2 separate regions of the Homo sapiens genome follow, and region 1 is linked to region 2. The links are contacts of gene promoters, found by promoter capture Hi-C in blood cells and fetal thymus (Javierre and others, 2016). All regions are on one chromosome and are shown on one strand. The core of a region is centred on a gene start or on the middle of the fragment in contact, and the rest is flanking DNA. Distances in the headings are between cores, read along the strand shown.

Region 1 (5,112 bases), core at 1,661-4,160, 110 kb after region 2:
TTGAGATGGGCGGTGACACCATGGTTGCGGCAGCGGGCGCAGGTTGGAGAGCGGCTGATGGCTCTCCTGGGGATCAGCTCTGTGCTCTGGGGGTCTCTGGTCTCATCCCAGGGGGCAGAGTCTAAGGGGCAGTGGTAGCCAGCAGGCATGTCACTGGGTTCCATGGATCTAGGGGCAGGAGTGGAAGGTAAGCATAGCCAGGTGGGCCTGCCCCTAACAACCCTCCTGCCCTGGAGACCACACCTGCAGGTCTCCATCCTGCCCCTCTTTAGACCCCGCCCTGATTCTGGCTTCTTTCCCAGCTTTCTCCCCTCTTTACCCCATGACATTTCTCAGGTATCTTCCTTCTTCAGAAACCCCTCTCCTCTTCCTCTTCTGTGTTCTTTCTTTTTTTTTTTTTTTTTTTTTGAGATGGAGTCTCACTCTGTCTCCCAGGCTGGAGTGCAGTGGCACGATCTTGGCTTGCTGCAACCTCCACCTCCCGGGTTCAAGCGATTCTCCTGCCTCAGCCTCCTGAGTAGCTGGGATTACAGGCAAGAGCCACCATGCCCGGCTATTTTTTTTTATTTTTGTATGTTTAGTAGAGATGGTGTTTCACCATGTTGGCCAGGCTGGTCTCGAACTCCTGGCCTCAAGTGATCTGCCTGTCTCGGCCTCCCAAAGTGCTGGAATTACAGCCATGAGCCACTGCACCCGTCCCCCCTTTTTTTAATTTAAAAATTTTTAGGCCGGGTGCGGTGGCTCAAGCCTATAATCCCAGCACTTTGGGAGGCCAAGGCGGGTGGATCACAAGGTCAGGAGATCGAGACCATCCTGGCTAACACAGTGAAACCCTGTCTCTACTAAAAATACAAAAAATTAGCTGGGCGTGGTGGCGGGTGCCTGTAGTCCCAGCTACTCCAGAGGCTGAGGCAGGAGAATGGCGTGAACCCGGGAGGCAGAGCTGGCAGTGAGCCATGATCGCGCCACTGCACTTTAGCCTGGGTGACGGAGCAAGACTCTGTCTCAAAAAAAAAATTTTTTTTTAATTGTTTTTTATTTTTATAGAGACAAGGTCTCATTATGTTTCCCAGGCTGGTCTGGTCTCGAACTCCTGGGCTCAAGCGATCCTCCTGCCTTGGCCTCCCACAGTGCTAGGATCAGAGGCATGAGCTGCTGCGCCCGACATTCTGTATTCTTTCAATTCAAACATTCTTTTCTTTCAATCCAAACACTTTCCCACCCACACACACATCCTAGGTTCCAACCTACTCATGTCCTCACATACCCCTTCAGCGAGTCCTACATCCCCTTTTCACAAGCACCCTGTTCCGTCCCAACAGTGTTTCCTGGCATCCTCTTCAACAATGCTCACCCCACTCTCATGCATTCATCCAATGCCTACCAGTAGTTTTATGCCCCTTTCAATTCTTAGTTCAATTTCAATTCTTAGTCTCATCTATGCCCTGCAAAGCAACTGCCTCCTTGCATTCCTTTAGTCTTATTTTGTTCTTGTACCCCTTTAAATCAGAACCCTCTCTTGCACCCCCAATAATTACCTTATTCTCATGGATTCCCTGCTCCACTTTCTTTTTTTTTTTATTGACAGGGTCTCGCTCTGTTGCCCAGGCTGGAGCGCAGTGGCGTGATCATGGCTCACTGCAGCCTCCACCTCCTGAGCTCAAGCAATCCTCCTGCCGCAGCCTCCCCAGTAGCTGGGACTACAGGCTGGAGCCACTATGCTTGGCTCCCCTGTCCCACTTTCTTTCTTTCTTTTTTTTTGTTTTGAGATGGAGTCTCACTCTGTAGCCCAGGCTGTAGTGCAGTAGTGCAATCCCGGCTCACTGCAACCTCCGCCTCCTGGGTTCAAGCAATTCTCCTGCCTCAGCCTCCCGAGTACCTGGGATTACAGGCCTGTGCCACCACGCCCGTCTAATTTTTGTATTTTTAGTAGAGATGGGGTTTCACCATGTTGGCCAGGCTGGTCTTGAACTCCTGACCTGCCTCAAGCGACCTGCCTGCTTCGGCCTCCCAAAGTGTTGGGATTACAGGCATGAGCCACCGCACCCGCCACCTGCCCCACTTTCAAGTTATTTTCCTTCACTCCTTCATTCATTCCACAAATGGTTACTGAGCCCCTGTCATGTGCTAGGCCCTGATCTGGGCCAAAAACCTTCTCCTTGGGGCACTAATGTCTCTCTTGCGCTCACACCTTATTCAGGTTTTTGTGTAAACATGTGAAGTCACTGTGTCCAGCGCTTCCTGCTCCTGTGGCCACTACCAACAATTAATTTCATGCATGTCCCCCTCCCCCCTTCCCGTGCCCCAGGGAGCGAGTGGGGAACCGGGAACGCGCCAAGGGGCCCGCGAGGCAGGGAAGGGGAGAGGGGGCGCGAGGGCGGGAGGGGCGCGAGGGGGAGGAGAGGGGATGCCTGGGTTAGGGAGTCCGGCTAAGAGGGAGGAGGACGGAAAGGCAGGAGGGACCGTGTTCGTGCAGCTAGTTCACGGTTACCACAGCCTCCAATGGAGTCAGATTCAGTCAAGAAGACGCCCAAAGACACTGTGAGAAAGTGGCCAGAGGAACCGCCAAGCTCGCGCTGCTTTTCTTACCCTGTCTCACAAAGACCAATGAACTTCAAGCATCGCCTCTCTCAGCCGAGGCAGACGACCAATGCGGTTTGAGATCCTGAACTGATGTCCCGCCCCTTCCCTTCTGCCAGCTTCTTGGCGCACAAGACTATCAGTCCCACCAATAGCGCTTCGAGTTGAGCCTCGCGCCACCGCTGCCTCTCCCTCCGCACGTCCTGCCCGCCCAGACTGTCTTCCCCCTTTCGAGGCAGGTGGCCAATGGGGCGTCGAGTACCCCTTATTGGACCGAGGCTGGCCCCGCCCCCCAGGAACGGCCCGCCTGGCCCCGCCCCTGGGGCGTTGACCAAGCCCGGTCTGTGCACGGGTTGCCTCGTTTCTGGCCTTCCCTTGCCTTGTACCTCGACTTCGCGCGTGGCTTGTTTTTGCTGAGTGGAGGCCTGCGTTTTCTGTTATGTCTCTTCCGGTGCCCCACAACTCCTGAGCTACCCTTCTTTTATGCGTTCTCTCCCAGCGCTGTGATTACCGGGTTGCTTACCGGGCCCTCCTTCCTCAGATTGCACCCCTTTCCTTGTGTCTCTTCTTGTCTTTGTGTCGGTTGTGATTTTCCTAATCTCTGATTTTCCTTTTCTCTCGGACGCTCTCCCTCTTCGGACCCATTTTCTCCCGTGCTTCATGCCCTGATAGCCTGGCCCCTTCCCGGCTTCCTTCGCTACCGGGGACGCCTCTAGTTTTTCTGAATTTCTGGCTGGCTCCACCCTCCGCGTTCATCTTCCTCAAGAGTTCGCCCCTCTGGGGGCTCCTCTGTGTAATCGTCGCCTTCTCTGGGTATTTCTGTGAACTCCGTCTCACACCATCCCGCCATCTTCTCTGCCTTGGCCCCTTTTCTCTGTACAGCCAGCTCTGTGTCCTTTTCTTCTCCCCCTCTAAAATCGACTCCTCTTCTCCCTGAGAGCCCCACCTTTGTGCCCCACTCCTCATTTTCCTACGCCTCCCTCTCTCTGCTGGTCCTCTCTCTCCCTGCAAGGTTCCATTCCATCAATTTGTTTGTCTTTTGTAGGGGTGGCATCCCCTCTGACTACTGCTCCATCCTTTTTTTTTTTTTTTTTTTTTTTTTTTTTGCTTGAGGATTTCACTTCAATCTTTTCTGGTTGCGTCTCCACTTGTACTCAGCTTGTTAGGTCCAGGTCCAGTTGTTCTGCATCTGAGGCTGGCGTGTGCTGTCTTCTCTGATTGGCCTAATCTCCCTCACCCCCGTGAGATCTGTTGTCAGCCTTCGTTTCTCTTTCCTGTGTCCCAGCTTTTCTGCGGGTCTTGGCACCTTTCTTGGCCACAGATTTCTGGGTTACAGAGCATGTGTGTCTGAGGCATTGCAGGCAGAAAAGGGTGGCCGACGTGACCTCTAGCTGGACTGCTGGGCAGGGGAGCTGTCCTAGATAAAATTGGAAAGGTTGGGTGGCGCTTATCTGGGGTGGGGTGGGGTGTGGTCGGGGGAGGCTTAAAGGCCAGCTAAAGAGGTTGAACTTGATCCTTTAGGTAGTGGAGAGAGAGTGAGAGGAAGTGTGTGTGGGAGGGAGGGATAGTGGTAGAGGAACAGGGTAACCAACGATTATAAAGAGCTTAGCATTTGCCTAATACTTATGGTAATAATTTTATTGATCTTCACAATGACCCTATGAGATGTATTATACTTCATTTTATAAAGAAGGTAGTAGGCTCTGAGTTCAACAAATTGGACAGCTAGTAAATGAAGGGGTAAAGATTCCAACCTGGGTCTCTGAGGCCAAGGTCAGTGATCTTTGTACCCCCTCCTACACTGTTATTTTCCACCAATTCCCCACTTTCATTCCCTAACCTTCTTATAGGCAATTCTCATTCTAAGGTGGTTAATATGTATCTTTTGGTTTGTGTGTGTGTTCTCCCAGGATGTGTGTAGTGTTGTTGTTGGGGTTTTTTTTTTTTTTTTTTTTTTTTTTTTTTTTTTTTTTTTTTTTTAGCGATGGGGTTTTGCCATATTAACCAGGCTGGTCCAGAACTCCTGGCCTGAAGTGATCTGTCTGCCTTGGCCTCCCAAAGTGCTGGGATCACAGGCATGAACGACCACACCCGACCTCTGTTTGAGTTTTTAATTTATGCAAGTGATATTATGTTATATACTATTTGTAATAATCAGCACTGTGATTTTACAATCTATCCATGTACACATTCTGTCATTCTGTCATGATGTGTACTTTTTTTTTTTTTTTTTTTTTTTTTTTTTTTTGTTTAGACGGAGTTTCACTCTTATTGCCCAGGCTGGAGTGCAATGGTGTGATCTTGGCTTACTGCACCCTCCACCTCCTGGGTTCAAGCAATTCTTCTGCTGCCACAGCCTCTTGAGTAGCTGGGATTACAGGCTCCCACCACCACACTCGACTAATTTTTGTATTTTTAGTAGAGTCAGGATTTTGCCATGTTGACCAGCTTGGTCTTGAACTCCTGACCTCAGGTGATCCGCCCACCTCAGCCTCCCGAAGTGCTGGGATTACAGGCGTGAGCCACTGTACC
Region 2 (5,479 bases), core at 392-2,891:
ATGGTTCTTTAGGACTCAGGAATCAGAGAGCACCCCAGGTTTGATGGTTCTCTGGGACTGGGGACTCAGTATGCAATTGCACTCACAGCTCTGATTTACTCTCATCAAAGGGTATGGAGCCAAGTCAGCCAAAAGGAAAGGTGCATGGAGTGAACTCGGGAAACCAGGCATGCACTTCCAGAGGCCACACCTAATTCCTCCAGCAGTGGATCATGGTGACGTGTGAAATGTCAGCCAGGGACACTCTGATCCTAGCCTCAGCGCCCTTGGTTTCATGGGGGCGGCCACAAGAGCACCTTCTCTCCAACATATACCAAAATGCCAGGCTCCCAGAAAGAAGGCCTGTGCCTGCACGAACAGCCTAGATAGATGCAGCAAGCCACTCTAGGCCTGCACGAACAGCCTAGATAGATGCAGCGAGCCACTCTATCAGGAAGTGATAAGACCCCCCCCCCAACACCCAAGTTCCCAGCCAAGGACCAACTGTGCACCCAGGCCTGTCTAAGGACAGCAGTCTGTTGTGGAGCCTGCCAGGTTAACTCTTTTCTGCACAGAGAAAGTTCGGGAATGAGTTGTGGGTTAAAGAGGGTGACCAGAAAAGGCCTCCCTGACGTGACATTCACCAAAGACCTAAATTGAGAGAGGGAGCAGCCCAGATCCTTTGGAGGAAGAATAATTGGGGCAGAGGAAGCCACAGGGGCATAGCCTGGGAGATGGCAGCAGCCAGGAGGCTCGAGGGCAGCCAGGAGGTGGGCGTGGCTGGGGCAGATAAGCGAGGGGGACAGTGTGGGAGGCCAGGGAGCCTTGTGGGCCACGGTGAGGGCTTTGGGTTTTACTCTGCTTGAGATGAAAGACACAGTTTGCTTTTGTGAGATGGATTTTGCTTTGTTTCCCAGGCTGGTCTCAAATTCCTGGGCTCAAGCGATTCTCCCCCTGCAGCCTCCCATAGTGCTGGGACTACTGGTGTGAGCCACTGTGTCCAGCCCAGTTTGCTTCTTGCCTTTTGTTTTTTTGAGACAGGGTCTCACTTTATGGCCCAGGCTGGAGTGCAGTGGTGTGACCACTGCTCACTGCAGCATCTACCTCTTGGGCTCAAGTGAGCCTCCCACCTCAGCCTCCTGAGCAGCTGGGACCACAGGTGCACGCCACCACACCCAGCTAATTTTTTTTAACTTTTCATTAGACAGGGTCTCACTATGTTGCCTGGCCTGGTTTCAAACTCCTGGGCTGAAGCAATCCTCCTGCCTCAGCCTCTCAAAGTTCTGGGATTACAGGCATGAGCCACCGTGCCGGGTCCAGTTTGCCTTTCATCATGAGGTGGAGACTGCCACGTGGTAGCAGTAACAAAAGAGAAACACACTTGGGAGGGAAAGTGCCAGGCAGATGAAGACAAGGGAGGTGGCCGAGAGGGCCTAAGAAGTGACTTGATTTTTTTATTTTTATTTATTTGTTTATTTTTTTGAGATGGAGTCTCTCTCTGTCGCCCACGCTGGAGAGCAATGGTGTGATTTCGGCTCACTGTAACCTCCACTTCCAAGATTCAAGCTATTCTCCTGCCTCAGCCTCCCAGGTAGCTGGGATTATAGGTGCCCACCAACACGCCTGACTAATTTTTGTATTTTTAGTTTTATTTTTTAATTTTTTTGAGATGGAGTTTCGCTCTTGTTGCCCATGCTGGAGTGCAATGGCGCGATCTCGACTCACTGCAACCTCCACCTCCCGGTTTCAAGTGATTCTCCTGCCTCAGCCTCCCGAGTAGCTGGGATTACAGGCGCCTGCCACCACGCCCGGCTGATTTTTTTGTATTTTTGGTAGAGACAGGGTTTCACTGTGTTGCCCAGGCTGGTCTCGAACTCCTGACCTCAGGTGATCCACCTGTCTTGGCCTCCCAAAGTGCTAGGATTACATGTGTGAGCCACCGTGCCCCGCCAATTACTTTAGATAGGGGTGGTCTGGGAGGGCTCTCTGAGGAGACACAAGAAGTGGGTGGAGTTTCCCAAGGAGAGGGACAGCGAGTGCCAAGGCCTCAGGGATGCAGCCTCTCCAACCTCGTGTCTCCTCAGCAGAACTCACCCACTCATCCTTGATGCAGCAGGTGCTCACCCAGAGCCCACTGATGCCCACTGTTCTGGAATTCTCCTGTCAGATATGGTGGCCAGCCATATGCGGCTGCCTCAAACATGGCTGGTCCAAACTGAGACATGCTATGAGTGTGAAATGCACACCAGACTTCGAAGATTTAGTATGAAAATGGAGTAAAATATCTCAATAATTTTTATAGGCTGGGCATGGTGGCTCACACCTGTAATCCCAGCACTATTGGGAGGCTGAGGCAGGCAGATCACTTGAGGCCAGGAGTTTTAGACCAGCCTGGCCAATATGGTGAAACCCTGTGTCTACTAAAAGTACAAAAATTGGCCTGGCGCGGTGGCTTACGCCTGTAATCCCAGCACTTTGGGAGGCCGAGGCAGGTGGATCACGAGGTCAGGAGTTCAAGACCAGCCTGGCCAAGATGGTGAGACCCCGTCTCTACTAAAAATACAAAAAAATTGGCCGGGCATGGTGGCGGTGCACTGTAATCCCAGCTACTTGGGAGGCTGAGGCAGAGAATTGCTTGAACCCAGGGGGCGGAGGTTGCAGTGAGCCAAGATCGCACCACTGCACCCCAGCCTAGGCAACAGAGCAGGACTCCATCTCAAAAAAAAAAAAAAAAAAATTGGCATGGTGGCACATGCCTATAATCCCAGCTACTTGGGAGGTTAAGGCAGGAGAATTGTTTGAACCTGGGACACAGAGGTTGCAGTGAGCCAAGATTGTGCCACTGCACTCCAGCCTGGGTAACAGAGAAAGACTCTGTCTCAAAAATAATAATAATTTTTATGTTGATTATGTGTGTTGGAAGGATAATTTATTGATATAGTGGATTAAATTATTATTCATTTCACCTTTTGTTTTTTACTTTTAAAAACACGATTAAGAGGCCGGGCGCAGTGGCTCACGCCTGTAATCCCAGCGCTTTGGGAGGCTGAGGTGGGCGGATCACGAGGTCAGGAGATCGAGACCACCCTGGCTAACATGGTGAAACCCCGTCTCTACTAAAAATACAAAAAAATTAGCCAGGCGTGGTGGCAGGCGCCTGTAGTCCCAGCTACTCAGCGGGAGGATGGCGTGAACCTGGGAGGCGGAGCTTGCAGTGAGCCAATATCGCGCCACTGCACTCCAGCCTGGGTGACAGAGCGAGACTCGATCTCAAAAAAAAAAAAAAAGAAAAAAAACATGATTAAGGCTGGGCACCATGGCTCATGCCTGTATAATCCTAACACCTTGGGAAACCAAGGTGGGAGGATTGCATGAGCCCAAGAGTTTGAGACCAGCCTGGATAACACAACAAGACCCCCATCTCTGCAAAAAAGTTAAACAGTTATTTGGGCATGGTAGTGTGGGCCTGTAGTCCCAGCTACTTGGGAGGCTGAGGTGGGAGGATAACTTGAGTCCAGGAGTTCAATGCTACAGTGAGCCATGACTGCCACTGCACTCAGCCTGGGCAACACAGAGATACCCCATCTCTTTAAAAACAAACAAACAAGAGTTGCTGGGTGTGGTGGCTCATGCCTATAATCCCAGCACTTTGGGAAGCCAAGGTGGGTGGACTGCATGAGCTCAGAACTTCGAGACCAGCCTGGGCAACATGGCAACACCCTGTCTCTACAAAAAATACAAAAATTAGCCAGGTGTGGTGGCGCATGCCTGTGGTCCCAGCTACTTGGGAGGCAGAGGTGGGAGGATTGCTTGAGCCCAGTAGGTCAAGGCTGCAGTGGGCCGAGATTGCATCACCGCTGCACTCCAGCCTGGGTGACAGAGTGAGACCCTGTCTCAAAAAGAAGGCGGGGGCGGGGGGTGTGCGGATTAAATAGAAAATTGCAAGTTAGCCCGGGCATGATGGCTCATGCCTGTAATCCTAGCACTTTGGGAGGCTGAGGTGAGTGGATCACCTGAGGTCAGGAGTTCGAGATCAGCCTAGTCAACATGGCGAAACCCTGTCTCTACTAAAAATACAAAAATTAGCCCAGCATGGTGGTGCATACCTGTAATCCCAGCTACTCGGGAGGCTGAGGCAGGAGAATCGCTTGAACCTGGGGGGCGGAGGTTGCAGTGATCCAAGGTCGCGCCACTGCACTGCAATCTGGGCAACAGAGGGAGGCTCCCTCTAAAAAAAAAAAAAAGAAAGAGGAAAGGAAAGGAGAGGAAGGGGAAAAGGGAAGGGAAAAATAAAAGGAAAAGAGGGGAGGAGAGGGGAAGGGGAGGGGAGGGGAAGGGGAGGGGAGGGGAACGGGGACAGGGGAGGGGCGGGGCGGGGCAGAGAGGGTTATCCCTCTGAGGTTGTGTGGCGGATGGGCTGGAGGGAGTGAGACGAGGGACGATGATCCTAGCTGGGGAAGATGGGGCAGGGAAGTGGGGTGGAGAGGCGAGACAGGGAAGAGAGATTCAGGAGGTTGAAGGACAGGTCTTGGTGGCTGACTTGCGTGGGAGGTGAGTGGAAGGAAGCAGGAAGACCCCCAGGCTTCAGGCTTCCCAAAAGATGGGAAGACCAGGGGGAGCCTGGGTGTCTTGACGCCACACAGGAGTGCACTTCCAGAATCTGCCACCAGAGGGCAGACAAGTGCTTCCGCCAGGGAGGCAGTTAGAGATGGACTCATCCTGGGGCACCAGGCAGGGTGGGGACCCGGGGTGCCCCCGGCCAAGTCAGGTCACCTGGGCCTACTCAGAGGCCAGGGTTCCAATCCCAATTTTGGAGTAGCAGAGGGTGTTTGTTGACCTCAATGCCAGTATTCCCCAGGGGAGACTGAGTGTCCGTGCCCATGTTGGTGAGTGGACGCTAGGTCCAGTCTACATCGCTGGGTTTGCAGTGAATATGATCGAGGTGCTTTGCTTGGAGGCTACTGATGCCAAAGACCCAAGCACTCAGTTCTGAGATCACTGAGGCAGCAGGCTAGAGCTGCGGGTCAGGGGGAGGTTGGTACTCAGGCCAAAGGCCTATTCTGAAGGCAACTGGCTACAGGTCTCAAATTCTGGTGTTGAGTTATTGAGATGCTGAGACCAGAAGCTTCCATCTGGGGTGATCAAGACTAGGGTCCCAGGGCCGGAGGTGGTGGTTCATGCCTGTAATTCCAGCACTTTGGAAGGCCAAGACGCTTGAGCCCAGGAGTTCAAGATCAGCCTGGGCAACATAGTAAGACTCCATCAAAAATATGAAAACCTGCCAGATGCGGTGGCTCATGCCTGTAATCCCAGCAAGTTGGGAGGTTGAGGCAGGCGGATCACGAGGTTAGGAGTTTGAGACCAGCCTGGCCAACATGGTGAAACCCATCTCTACTTAAAAAAAAAAAAAAAAAATATTATCCAGGTGTGGTGGTGCACGCTTGTAATCCCAGCTACTTGGGAGGCTGAGGCAGGAGAATGGCTTGAACCCAGGAGGTGG

What was found. Contacts are between HindIII fragments. The CHiCAGO score rates a contact against its expected background, and 5 or more counts as called.
Region 1: a contact is called between the fragment with the promoter of LYPD4 here and a fragment that was not itself captured in region 2, in 8 of 17 cell types (naive CD8 T cells, naive CD4 T cells, non-activated CD4 T cells and 5 more). The highest score is 8.2, in naive CD8 T cells.

What each region holds. Positions count from the first base shown.
Region 1 is chr19:41,842,481-41,847,592 of GRCh38, reverse strand. It overlaps LYPD4 (LY6/PLAUR domain containing 4), which reads left to right and starts at 2,910. Exons shown (of 5, transcript NM_173506.7): 1 at 2,910-4,015. DMRTC2 (DMRT like family C2) reads right to left here and starts at 2,551. Exons shown (of 9, transcript NM_001040283.3): 1 at 2,492-2,551; 2 at 1-168. The coding sequence starts at 164. The HindIII fragment of the contact is 15,469 bases long and covers 1-5,112 here.
Region 2 is chr19:41,950,993-41,956,471 of GRCh38, reverse strand. No RefSeq gene overlaps it. Among named protein-coding and RNA genes, the nearest start is that of RABAC1, 5.6 kb to the left of the region's middle. The HindIII fragment of the contact is 6,931 bases long and covers 1-5,106 here.